Regions from separate parts of the Homo sapiens genome. Here region 2 is linked to region 1. The links are contacts of gene promoters, found by promoter capture Hi-C in blood cells and fetal thymus (Javierre and others, 2016). All regions are on one chromosome and are shown on one strand. The core of a region is centred on a gene start or on the middle of the fragment in contact, and the rest is flanking DNA. Distances in the headings are between cores, read along the strand shown. Region 1 holds the start of RC3H1 (ring finger and CCCH-type domains 1). Region 2 holds the start of PIGC (phosphatidylinositol glycan anchor biosynthesis class C).

Evidence for each region. Contacts are between HindIII fragments. The CHiCAGO score rates a contact against its expected background, and 5 or more counts as called.
Region 2: a contact is called between the fragment with the promoter of PIGC here and the fragment with the promoter of RC3H1 in region 1, in 1 of 17 cell types (total B cells). The highest score is 5.2, in total B cells.

Annotation. Positions count from the first base shown.
Region 1 is chr1:174,019,125-174,025,291 of GRCh38, reverse strand. RC3H1 (ring finger and CCCH-type domains 1) reads left to right here and starts at 2,935. Exons shown (of 20, transcript NM_172071.4): 1 at 2,935-3,196. RC3H1-DT (RC3H1 divergent transcript) reads right to left here and starts at 2,809. Exons shown (of 2, transcript NR_187284.1): 1 at 2,652-2,809; 2 at 2,102-2,509. RefSeq lists silencers at 2,700-2,949, 3,060-3,379 and enhancers at 3,586-4,125, 4,190-4,309. The HindIII fragment of the contact is 5,810 bases long and covers 1-5,761 here.
Region 2 is chr1:172,441,115-172,447,281 of GRCh38, reverse strand. It overlaps PIGC (phosphatidylinositol glycan anchor biosynthesis class C), which reads left to right and starts at 3,213. Exons shown (of 2, transcript NM_153747.2): 1 at 3,213-3,294; 2 at 4,452-5,825. The coding sequence starts at 4,660. The coding sequence ends at 5,553. It overlaps C1orf105 (chromosome 1 open reading frame 105), which reads right to left. Exons shown (of 7, transcript NM_139240.4): 2 at 2,124-2,209. RefSeq lists enhancers at 2,825-3,134, 2,858-3,381. The HindIII fragment of the contact is 3,601 bases long and covers 2,619-6,167 here.

The DNA of each region.
Region 1 (6,167 bases), core at 1,686-4,185:
CAGAATATCTTTTTTCCCCCTTGCTGAATATTCATATTATCTTTATTTTAAATAGACTCAATTTCAAGAGATAAATTATCCTCTGTATCTTTTTTTTTTCTTTTTTTCTTTTTTGAGATGGAGTCTTGCTCTGTCGCCAGGCTGGAGTGCAGTGGCGTGATCTCGGCTCACTGTAACCTCCACCTACCAGGTTCAAGCGATTCTCCTGTCTCAGCCTCCCAAGTAGCTGGGATTACAAGCGTGCACCACCATGCCCAGCTAATTTTTGGTGTTTTTTTTGAGACGGAGTTTCATTCTTGTTGCCCAGGCTGGAGTGCAATGGCACGATCTCGGCTCACTGCAACCTCCGCCTCCCAGGTTCAAAGGATTCTCCTGCCTCAGCCTCCCTAGTAGATGGGATTACAGGTGCCTGCCACCACGCCCAGCTAATTTTTTTGTATTTTTAGTAGAGACGGGGTTTCACCATGTTGGCCAAGCTGGTCTTGAACTCCTGACCTTAGGAGAGCCACCCTCCTCAGCCTCCCAAAGTGCTGGGATTACAGGCGTGGGCCACAATGCTCTGCCAAGACCGAGTCTTGCTGTCATCCAGGCTGGAGTGCAGTGGTACAATCTTGGCTCACTGCAGCCTCTGCCTCTCAGGTTCAAGTGATTCTCCTGCCTCTGTCTCCTGAGTAGCTGGGACTATAGGCGCGCGCCACCACGCCGGGCTTTTTGTATTTTTGGTAGAGACGGGGTTTCACCATGTTGGCCAGAATAGTCTGCATCTCCTGACCTCGTGATCTGCCTGCCTCGGCCTCCCAAAGTGCTGGGATTACAAGCGTGAGCCACCGCTCCCGGCCTTATCCCCTGTATCTTACACTTCTAGTCTGACTGGGGAGTTGAAAACATATGACTTCTCACAGATTAGTTTTTTATTTTTTATTGTAAGCATAAGTGTTTTCTTCAAAGCTGCTCTTCTTTTTCTGTCAAATGCATCTTTATATCACTAAAATGAATTTGGGTTTGGGGAAGCGCCGCCATTTTTAACTTTTTTTTTTTTTTTTTTTTTTTTTTTGAGACAGAGTTTAGCTCTTTTTGCCCAGACTGGAGTGCAATGGCGTGATCTCGGCTCACTACAACCTCCACCTCCCAGGTTCAAGTGATTCTCCTGCCTCAGCCTCCCGAGTAGCTAGGACTATAGGTGCACGCCACCACACCTGGCTAATTTTTGTATTTTTAGTAGAGATGGGGTTTCTCCACGTTGGTCAGGCTCCGGACCTCAGGTGATCCGCCCCCCTCAGCCTCCTAAAATGTTGGGATTACAGGCGTGAGCCACTGCATCTATCTGTCCTTTAACGTATTTTTAATTGAAATATTGACGAGATAAAAATAAACAACGTAAAAATCATACTGCTTAAGGGAACCTTTAAGGAGCCTTACCAACTGTGGTATAACTATTAATAGTTCAAAGAAATTACATTATCTAGGTTACTTGCAATGGAAGTTGAGTTACTCGCTTCACCTAAACAAGGAAGTTGGCATGTTTGCCTAGCAACAGTCGCTAAAACCTTCTGTTGTGGAAGGTTCCCTAGGAGTGAGAAGAAGGGAGGAGGAGGAAAAGCAGGAGGAGCAGATTAATCTGTTTTTCCTAGCAGGGTACAGAGGCCTGGTCTGAGAAGGGAAAGGCTTTAAGAGATCCCTTTAGATTGGCACATGCTAACCTAAATCCCCCTGTGGTAGCTAGAAATTCACTCTCTGTAGGACTGGGGTTACTATTTAGTAGGCTGAAAAGACGATTACAGATTAAACCCAGTTCAGAGGCAGCAAATTCCAATCAGTGGAAAGACAACAATAGGTCTTCTAAACAGAAGCTGAGATCTCAGTAGCAGGAGGGTGCTAACAACTAAAAAGAATTCTTCTCTGCCAAGAGTTTAGGAAGGTGTGTGATATTTCTTAAAAATAATACAAAAACACTATCTGTGATAGCGATTCCAATGTATCAAGTTAAAGGCAGAAGTGCTTCTCTTGGGGTACTGTGATGTAAACAGTGAAGAAAGGACAGAAAAACATAATCTCTGCTCTCTTGGTCAAATCCTGAAGCAAAAAAGGTGATAGCGCCGAGTAGAGGTATTAAATGGTTGTTTATTTGGGGACTCTCTCTCTCCTCTATTCTAGATGATTTATTTTGAAATTAGTACTGTATGGTGTTACAATAATCCCATTTCTTCCCCTTCTCAAAAGCGAGGGTTTGGCTAAAATGAATTGTCTGAAGGGACCTCCCATTCCCCAAAACCAAAACGGCACCTTTTCCACAAGGGACAAGAAACTTTTAAAGAGTCGCAAGGTTAGATTTCAGGAGCCCTTCTATGGGCCATATCTTTTCCTGTCGTCCCCAAATAGCTCTTATTGTTCACACAGCCCAGGAGAGACGTTTTGGAGTAGCGTGTCCGGGCCTTTTGGGCTGTTTCACAGCCTTAGGAGGCTGAACTCCCAGAGGGGTGACGAGGACAAAGCTGATGAGATCCAGAACCTGGATAATATGGAAGAAGAAAAATGGGGTGGGGGACAAGACGTGAAAAAGAAACAAGAGTTGGGGGACAACGGCTGAGAAAGCCGAAAGAGTAGACGTAGTGTGGGGTTCGATGGAAACGAAAGAAATTCCCCCAATTTACTCTCGCCATCTGGCCACTGGCCCGCTGAGCCCAAAGGCGCCGGTGCGGGAGGGCAGACCGGACCGAGGGACCGGTTCATCTGCTCAGGGCGTGTGAGACTTTCGGTCGCGGCGGAGAGCGTCGCCGGTCTCCCTCCGGGCGTTGGTGGCCGGTGACTCAGAGCTTTGCTCCCGCGCCCGCCCCTCCCCTCCGCCCGCCCCGCCTCCTGAGGGAGGATCCTCGCCCTCGTCTCCGCCCCAGTCTCCGGGGCGGGCCGGAGCCTGAGGAAGAGGAAGGGGACGAGGACAACGAGCGACTGGGCGGCGGAGGACGAGGAGGAGGAAGAGGAGGCCGAGCAACAAGATGGCCCCTGCTGCAGGAGCAGCCTCAGCAGCAGCAGGTGGGAGGCCGGAGGCGGTGCTGGCGGTGGCGGCGGCAGCCGTGGCCCGGCGGCCTGGGACAGAATCAGAGTCAACGGTGGCCTCGGCGGCGGCGGCGGCTGCCGCGGCGGTGGCGACGGCCGCGGGGACTCGGAGCTGAGAGGAGCTGCTGCTCGGACCAGCGCGGTGAGCGAGCGGCGGGCGGCGACTTGGGGAGCGGGGCTGCCGCGGCCGGGGCCTCAGTCGGGAACAATAGGCAGCTGTGGTCGGGAAGGGTTTGTCCTCGCCCGCCCTCTGCTCCTCCGCGGCAGCGGCAGCCCGGCCGGCCCCAGGCTCCTCAGGGCCCCCGCCGGCTGTTCTGGGGCTTGTCAGTGGCCGGCGTCCTTTAGGCCTCAGGCCTCTGCATGCCGCCTGTAGGGCCTGTCGGGGTAGGTAGGCCGAGAGGAGGACGAAGGGAGGCTCGGACGAGAGGGAGGGGGCGAAAGGGCTACCTGGCTCCTGTGGTACTCCCAGGGCCTGGGCCAGGCGGGGAATGCGCACGGGAACTGCTTTTTGGACCCCTAGTCTGTGGGGGTGGGGGAGGGCGAAGGCGTCTGTAAACAGGCGCCGCCTCGGCCTCCCAGCACCTCAGGGCTGCTTCCTCCCCCAGCCCCTGAAGCGCTCCCCTTCTTTGGCCAAGTGGATTTCACGGTGTCTGTTTCCCTGAAGTCCCTGGAGATCTAGCCTGGTAGTCTTCTCCCTGCTGGCGATGGGAAAATTGTGTGTGTGCAGGTGTCTTTAAAAAAAAAAAACAAAAAACTTAAATGCAACAAAAACATATAAAATGTGGTTATCGGTAAAGGATGGAGTGGTAAGGGATGCGCCTCTCTAAACATCTCTAAGTATCAGTTCTATAAACATCAGTTATGCCCGCATCCCAGGTGAGAGTGGATTGAAACAAGGGCTCTTTTGGAACAGTAATAACACAACTCTTGACATACCAGAATAGCCTATGAAACTGGAAACAAACACTGGCAACGCGGAGACAAACTGTAATGTTTAAAGAGGACTTTTATTCCAGCTAGGCGTTTTGAATTACTAACATGCAGTATAAGAAGCAACATTAACTAGCATAAAGTGGACCTCAGGAAGCACTTCGAAAGGAGACAGGTGGTTCATCTCCGGCCATAGAGCTTCTTGTGCCTTGTCTCGTGTTTCAGTAATTTTTCCTGAAATTGTTCAAGACCAGTCTTTTCTCTGAGTTTGAAATTTGATTTCGTTTTTGTTTTGTTTTGCGACGGAGTCTTGCTCTGTCACCCAGGCTGGATTGCAGTGGCACAATCTCGGCTCACTACAGCCTCCACCTCCCGGATTCAAGCGATTCTCCTGCCTCACCATCCGGAGTAGCTGGGATTACAGGCGCCCGCCACCATGCCCGGCTGATTTTTGTATTTTTAGTAGAGACGGGGTTTCACCATGTTGGCCAGGCTGGTCTGGAACTCCTGACCTCAAGTCATCTGCCCTCCTCCGCCTCCCAAAGTGCTTGGATTACAGGCGTGAGCCACCTCGCTCAGCCTTAAACTTAATTTTTCAAGGCTTCTACCACATTTTCTTACAAGTGAGGGAAAAGGTAGATTTATTTCTAAAGTACTTTCTACCTAGGTATGCAGAAATTTATATTAAAATCGCTTGGATACATCCAAGGAGATTGCTTTTCACTTGTTAACATTCAACTGCAAGGCCTAAGGGTTATAGGTTGTGTTCTTTTCAGCACTGACCTGTGCTGAAAAGATGCCAGTTAATATCTTTCACCTCTTCTAAGGGTAAATTTCTAAGTAGAATTGGTCCAAGTCTGTTCTAATTAAAAACATTATAAGCAGCACTAGTCTAGTTCTTAGTTCTTCCACAACAATTGACACTGAATAGATTAGCAATTGAATAAACATAAAGGTTGAATTTTCTTGTTTAGGATTTGAAGTATAGTGAATGAATATCAATACTGACCTTCATTTTATGCTTAGCATAAATAATGTTGGAGATGTTTTGATTTTTTGAATGATGGAGAAATAACAACTTTCTATGGCTCCTGATGTTGTGACTTTTTTGCAGATATTTCAGAAAGGACACCGTTTTTCAGGTGCTCAAATCTGTGATTTTTTTTTTTTTTCTGTGCTAATTTTGTTAGGTCAGCACAGATTCCAAGTAAAGTCTGTGTTATAATGATACTTAAATTTATGTATGGCCCTAAACCTATTAGAACAATTGTAGTAATTTATAGGTTGTAAGTTTTAAGTGGTTCATGTGCTGTGTTATGAAAACAATCTCACCGTGTTATGTCAAGGGCAGATTTACCTCATATTTAATATCATTTTCCTGAAAATAAATATTTTTAAGTGGTAAGGTTTTGTATTTCAGATTGGTTATTGACCCAGCAATTTATGGGCTTAGTCTGGGTCCGTATTTCTGTTCAATAGGAAAAAAATTTAGGGAATTGTTTTTATTTATTTTGTGTCAAAACAGTTTTAAGTTTTGACACAAACTCAACTGTCCCTTCTTCAGTATCAATACTTATTACTTAAGTTCACATTTTCTCAGGTAATAAAAATTTACTTCTAAGAAGTTTTGGAACCAGAGCTTAAGAATTAGATTTATATTTTCTTGGTAATATTAAAAGTTAATATATGCTTGATTTATTTGAAGAAATAAAAAAGGGTAATTTGTACACAACGCCTTTCAGAACATATTTGTTGAATGAATAAAAATATTTAAGCTTCCTCATTATGCTGCAGTATTAGTTCTGTTGTCCTCATTTTTTCATATGAAGAATGTGAAGCTAAGAGTAGCTATGTAACCAGCAAAAAGATCACATAATTAATAGGTAAAAGAGCTTACTCAGACTCAGATCTTGTGACACAAATTAGATTCTTTGCCACTACCACATGTGTCACAGTTAAACTTTGAAGCATCTTCTGTGTTGACAGATTCCTTTTTTTGCCTGTGAACTTACCCTATTATCATTATTTGTATCCTGTCAGATATCTACTTGTAAGACCAAGAAAGTATTTGTTCATGTGAATCACAAAAGAAACACTTAAATTTTTGTTTTTAGCATATCTGAATGCTATAAAATATAAAAACTCATACTGTTTACATAGGACAGATTTATCATACTGCTGTA
Region 2 (6,167 bases), core at 1,964-4,463, 1.6 Mb after region 1:
TACTCTGAGCATATTTGGCTAAATGTTCCTTTATCTTTTTTCAGACTGTTCTGCATTAGAACTCTTTGCTCAAGGGTATGTAATGCTTAAGGCACATTGAGAACTTTCTCCCAAAGTCTCAGTAAGGGGCTTTGCCAAAAATAAACAGCTTGGAACCCGGAGCTTTGGCCCACATGAGGAGCTTTTAATCCTTAAGATCTTTTGATACTTAAACCATCCTTTCAAAAGACTTTTCATTCCCGTCTTGTCCTCCTGAGAGCTCAGGGCACCTCAAAGGTGCTGTTCGGTCACCTTTGTTGTGAGGTAGGTATATTACATTTTTCTAAACAAGAATTAAGATTGCTACCCCAATCCTCCCAGAATAGCGATGAGTAGAGCTTCACTGCCTGCCTAAGGTAATTTCTCCTTGTGCCTAGCTTAGGTTTGGCTGGCTGGAGGAAAAACTGCCCACTCCCTTTCCAGTTGGCTGTCAACAGACTGTCTGCTCTGACCCTCCAGGACCTGGCTATGAAAGTGAACAGGTGCTGCCGATGCCCAGTTGTATTCTAGGCCTACCCTTCTCCCTGATCTCCACCCTCTGCCAAAGGCTTGTGTAATTAGAGACCAAGGGAGCTGGGGGCAAGAGAGCCATGCACAAGGATACTTTGCTCTTCGCTGCTGGGGCAGGTCTAATGGGCATGGGGGTAGTATGGGATGGTGGGATATTACCCTATTAGATCAAACACTAGCAATTTCACATAAAACATCCAGATTTCTAGTACTGTTAGAAGACCCAGTGGATCTGGCCTCTGGACTCACATGCCTGCAGGTAACACTGCTGGCGTGGGGGTGGGCTGAAGCGGGGAGGTGATTTCCCATTCATTGCAGTCCTGTTTGGCCAGCTTTACTCATTATGCCCCTCATCTGACTGTCATGGGCCTGTGAGTTTGTGTCCCACCCTCAATTAAAATATGCTAGACTGTCCTTACTCGTGCTGATCCATGCAGTGTTAACAACTCTTAATAAGCACTCTATCACTTAGTACTTTTGTTTCTTAAATAGGCCTTTGAGTTTATTGAACCTCTGATAATCTGCTTTCGTTATATTCAAAATTATGTAAAAATAACACAACTGAATAACGAGCACTTGAAAGCACTTGTGAATTTTGTTCTGAAAATACTAAAACCGTCTACCTATTTACTGAGAATGAGATTTTTTTTTAATGTACAGTAGACAAAGCAAAGGTACATGTTACTAAAGTGGGGATGTGGAGACAGTGATGGGAATTTGCTTATGAAGTCACTTATCCATGGGCAGGAGGGTACATGGTAGTTATCAACAGGAGGAGAAACTCTTTTTGGGGAGTCTGGCTTTTCTAACGAGCTGTTTCGAATGCCAAGGAGTCATTCCTTTTTAGTCTGTCGTGTGCCTTTGGAATGGCCTCTATGCCTGCCCTTTCTCTTTCTCTCTGCCCTCTTTCTGGTTTCTCTCATTCACCCCAACACTACCTCACACCTACCCTTCTGTCCATGTCCCCTTCCCAGAGTGGGGTTTATCACTACACTTAGGAACCATTTCATCAAAAATGGAGAAGGGACACGGTAACCCAATTATTTCAAGAGACAGTTGAAATGCTCCCTAGATATGTAATTCCTGCAATTTTGAAAAATAGATTTATGTGTCATATAGTAGTTTGTTTGGAAGGAGTAGGACTAACAGGAATGTAGGAGGGTGCCTCAAAGTTACATACAGAGTTACTATTCTATAAAGATGGGAACTTACTGTTCTAGACTTTTGATGGTAAAAATGTGAAAATTTCAGACTACAGCAGTGGAGAAAATGTGGGGTGAGAAAGAGGATGGAAGTGTTTTGAGAGACAGTGTCTAGGGGAAAAATTATCTTATACTGTTGAGTGGTAGTGGTGGAGAGGGAAAAATTTTGAGATCTCATCTCCTCTAGCCAGGCCTATACTCAGTGATCATTTTTTTCTGAGAAACCCGGATTATTTCTATTTTTAAAGCACTTGACTTGAGTTTCTCAATGGATCAAATGTGCCCTCTGATAATTGTCCCCATCCCTTAAGAAGAAATCATCTTCTGTGAGATGTTTCGTAAAACTTTTGCCCTCGGTGGCTGAGAGGTTACCTTCTGGGAAGGCTGAGCACTAATGGCTTGTTTACAAGGCTGGCCTCACTAAGCCAAGGAATCTTGTCAAATTTTGGAACAGAAGCCTAGAGGGAAATAGAGAACATTTTACAGAATATATCACACTTAAACATTGCTATCATTACGATGGCCAAAGTCAGCTAATAGCAGCCATATAGTGAACACTTTACAAACCATTTTTATATTTAACTCTTTAACCATCCTATAAAGTAGCCAAGTGCAAATAATGTCATCTCCATTTTACTGATGAAGAAATCAAAGCTCAGGTAGTGTGATTTGCCTTGAGTCACTGAGCTAGTAAATGGGTCATGTTTTCTGACTTTTATTTCCACTGTATCCTGTGTTTTACTACATCCCTTTGTTTCTTTATTACTTCCTTCTGTTTATATATCCTTTAATATTTCCATGAACTCAGTTTAATTAGCAATCTTGTCCTCACTTCTTTTAGGAGGTAAAGAGGAAAAAAACCAAGCTTTGAAGCTATAGACAACTGGATATTGATCTCTGTTCATCTACTTCCCAGGTGCCTGTCTTTGGACAAATACAACTTATCTGAGCCTTAGATTTGTCCTCTTTGAGGGGGGAGATGATATAATCAGTGTAAAGGTCAATGCACCAAAAAAGAGAGTTTCATGAGAGCAGCAATTTTTGTGTGTTTCATTCACGGCTGTATCATGAGCACCCCAAGCATGGCTTGTTACATGCAGGCATTCAATCAGTATCTGTGGAATGAACGCATGGATGCACGGGAAGTCCCAGCTGAGGGCCTGACTTAATAAAGGAGCGCAACAAAAGCGGCCATTATCTCTCACCTACTGGCCCAGCCTCTTTCCTTGTCCTCTCTTGCCTTACCCAGTCCTTCAGATGGCACATCCCATCTTTCAATAGGGGATTGCTGGGGATTTGCCTTCCTAGGCTCAGAGCATTCGGGTTTGGGCCAGTCTCCAGGAGAGGAGACCGGAGGTCCTTCGAGCAGCCAGGAGGGGGCAGCAGTCACGTCGCGATGGTTCCAGCCGGGGAAGGGTGCCCTCGCTAAGGAGATTGCGGCGGACCCGGAAGTGCTTGGCCACAGTCGCAGCCCCGGCGCCCCGAAGCGGGAAAAAGGCTGGGTGCCGCCGTCCCCCAGCTGCGCAACCCTAGGAACTCTCGGGTAGGTGGGTTCCGTGTAACGGTCAGTGTTTCCGGGGCTCCTTTTCCTCTGCTGCCTCCCGCAGACCCAAGGCTGAGTGAGGGGCGGCGGCGGAAGTGGGAGGCCCACCCAAAAAGCCAAATGGGGTGCCAGAAGAGTGAAGGCGCACCCTGGGGTCACCCTACCCTACCCCGTCCCCTCCCAGCCCCACTCTGCGGGCGGGCGCTGCCCTTTTGGGCGTCGCAGACCCTCCAACCCCGGCGGCGGCCTTAAGATTCCCGGGCTGGGATCCCTGCTGCAGAGGGGGTAACGGTGTCTGGCTTGCCAAGCAATATTTGTTGTGGTCTATCATGGAAGAAATAAAGTCGGGCAATATGAATTTTTTTTTTCTCAAATTTGCCGGATGGCTGTGGTGTTTCTGACTCTTAGTTTTCTCATTGTGAAAAAGGAATGATTATCTTCTTCGATCCTCTCAAGAGTTTCCTTGTTTTGAGTAGATTGATAGCTCTTTAAAGGATGCTAAGCTCAGCTAATGGAAGAAGAGTCTAGTTTCTTTGAGGCTTTGATTTTGGTTAAACTATAGAGCTCATACCTTTCTGTATGGTGCAGCTTACTATTGTCTTTGGATTGGTAACTTAAAAAATACAAATAACATGCCTTTGAGAACCAATAAAAACTATGGATATTATCCCTATAAATTTACACAAATCCAGATATAAGCATGCAATGTGATATACCTAAGGGATATGTGAACCACTGAGTTAAGAACTGCTTTAGAGGGAGATACAATGTGAGACACAGGCTTTGGGATAAGACTTTGGTTTGAATCCTGGCTCTGCTCTGTTACCTTAGGGCAAAGTTACTTAAGCATCTTGAATCTCAGCTTTTTTACCAAAGCAGGACTAATACTAACTTACAAGGTGGTGAGGATTAAGTGAAAGAAGATACATAAGGCACTTAGCACATAGTAGGTACTCAATAAGCGATAGCTAACAGATGTCTATTATTATTCAAGGAATTATAATTTTCAAATCTGAAATGCAGTTTTAATGTCCCATAAGGTGACTACCACATACATTTTTCTCAGACTTTTAGTAAACTGAGTTGATTTGACTTTATCTCAGTACTACTCTTGACCTTTCACAACTTTCGTAGGTTCACAGTCTCTCTTTTTCTAGGAACTTGGCTGTGTTGTCCTGCCTCAGAGACAAATTCATCTATTGTAGGCCTAGCCCCTGCCTTTGAAAACAAGGAAAGGTTGGTAGAACATCAACACAGCATGGAATTTCCAGGGAGGTCTCATTTCAAAACTTCATAAAGAACAAGAACCACCTGGACTTCTGTGAGGGCGATGATTAAACTGGCCTGAGTTTGAATGAAAGGATAATGTATGCTCAACCTGTGACTAACACCAAGGAGGTCAAGTGGCAGAAGGTCTTGTATGAGCGACAGCCCTTTCCTGATAACTATGTGGACCGGCGATTCCTGGAAGAGCTCCGGAAAAACATCCATGCTCGGAAATACCAATATTGGGCTGTGGTATTTGAGTCCAGTGTGGTGATCCAGCAGCTGTGCAGTGTTTGTGTTTTTGTGGTTATCTGGTGGTATATGGATGAGGGTCTTCTGGCCCCCCATTGGCTTTTAGGGACTGGTCTGGCTTCTTCACTGATTGGGTATGTTTTGTTTGATCTCATTGATGGAGGTGAAGGGCGGAAGAAGAGTGGGCAGACCCGGTGGGCTGACCTGAAGAGTGCCCTAGTCTTCATTACTTTCACTTATGGGTTTTCACCAGTGCTGAAGACCCTTACAGAGTCTGTCAGCACTGACACCATCTATGCCATGTCAGTCTTCATGCTGTTAGGCCATCTCATCTTTTTTGACTATGGTGCCAATGCTGCCATTGTATCCAGCACACTATCCTTGAACATGGCCATCTTTGCTTCTGTATGCTTGGCATCACGTCTTCCCCGGTCCCTGCATGCCTTCATCATGGTGACATTTGCCATTCAGATTTTTGCCCTGTGGCCCATGTTGCAGAAGAAACTAAAGGCATGTACTCCCCGGAGCTATGTGGGGGTCACACTGCTTTTTGCATTTTCAGCCGTGGGAGGCCTACTGTCCATTAGTGCTGTGGGAGCCGTACTCTTTGCCCTTCTGCTGATGTCTATCTCATGTCTGTGTCCATTCTACCTCATTCGCTTGCAGCTTTTTAAAGAAAACATTCATGGGCCTTGGGATGAAGCTGAAATCAAGGAAGACTTGTCCAGGTTCCTCAGTTAAATTAGGACATCCATTACATTATTAAAGCAAGCTGATAGATTAGCCTCCTAACTAGTATAGAACTTAAAGACAGAGTTCCATTCTGGAAGCAGCATGTCATTGTGGTAAGAGAATAGAGATCAAAACCAAAAAAAATGAACCAAAGGCTTGGGTGGTGAGGGTGCTTATCCTTTCTGTTATTTTGTAGATGAAAAAACTTTCTGGGGACCTCTTGAATTACATGCTGTAACATATGAAGTGATGTGGTTTCTATTAAAAAAATAACACATCCATCAAGTTGTCTCATGATTTTTCCATAAACAGGAGGCAGACAGAGGGGCATGAAGAGTGAAGTAAGTGTGTGTGTGTGTGTGTGTGTGTGTGTGTGTGTGTGTGTAAAGTCACTTCTTTCTACCCTTTTCAATGTGCTAATGCTCTTTTATTTATCTAGGGCTCAAATCTTAGAACACAGGGTGCTATGCTCAGTTTTGTTGCCCAAGATCACAGAATTGGTTACTTAACCTTGACTCAGAGTTTCTACCTTGTTCTTAGGGAAGCATATCACAACTAATTGCAAAGCAGAGTGTGATGTGTCACAATAAGCAGAATGCTAGGGGGAATTCAGAAGCTGGAGA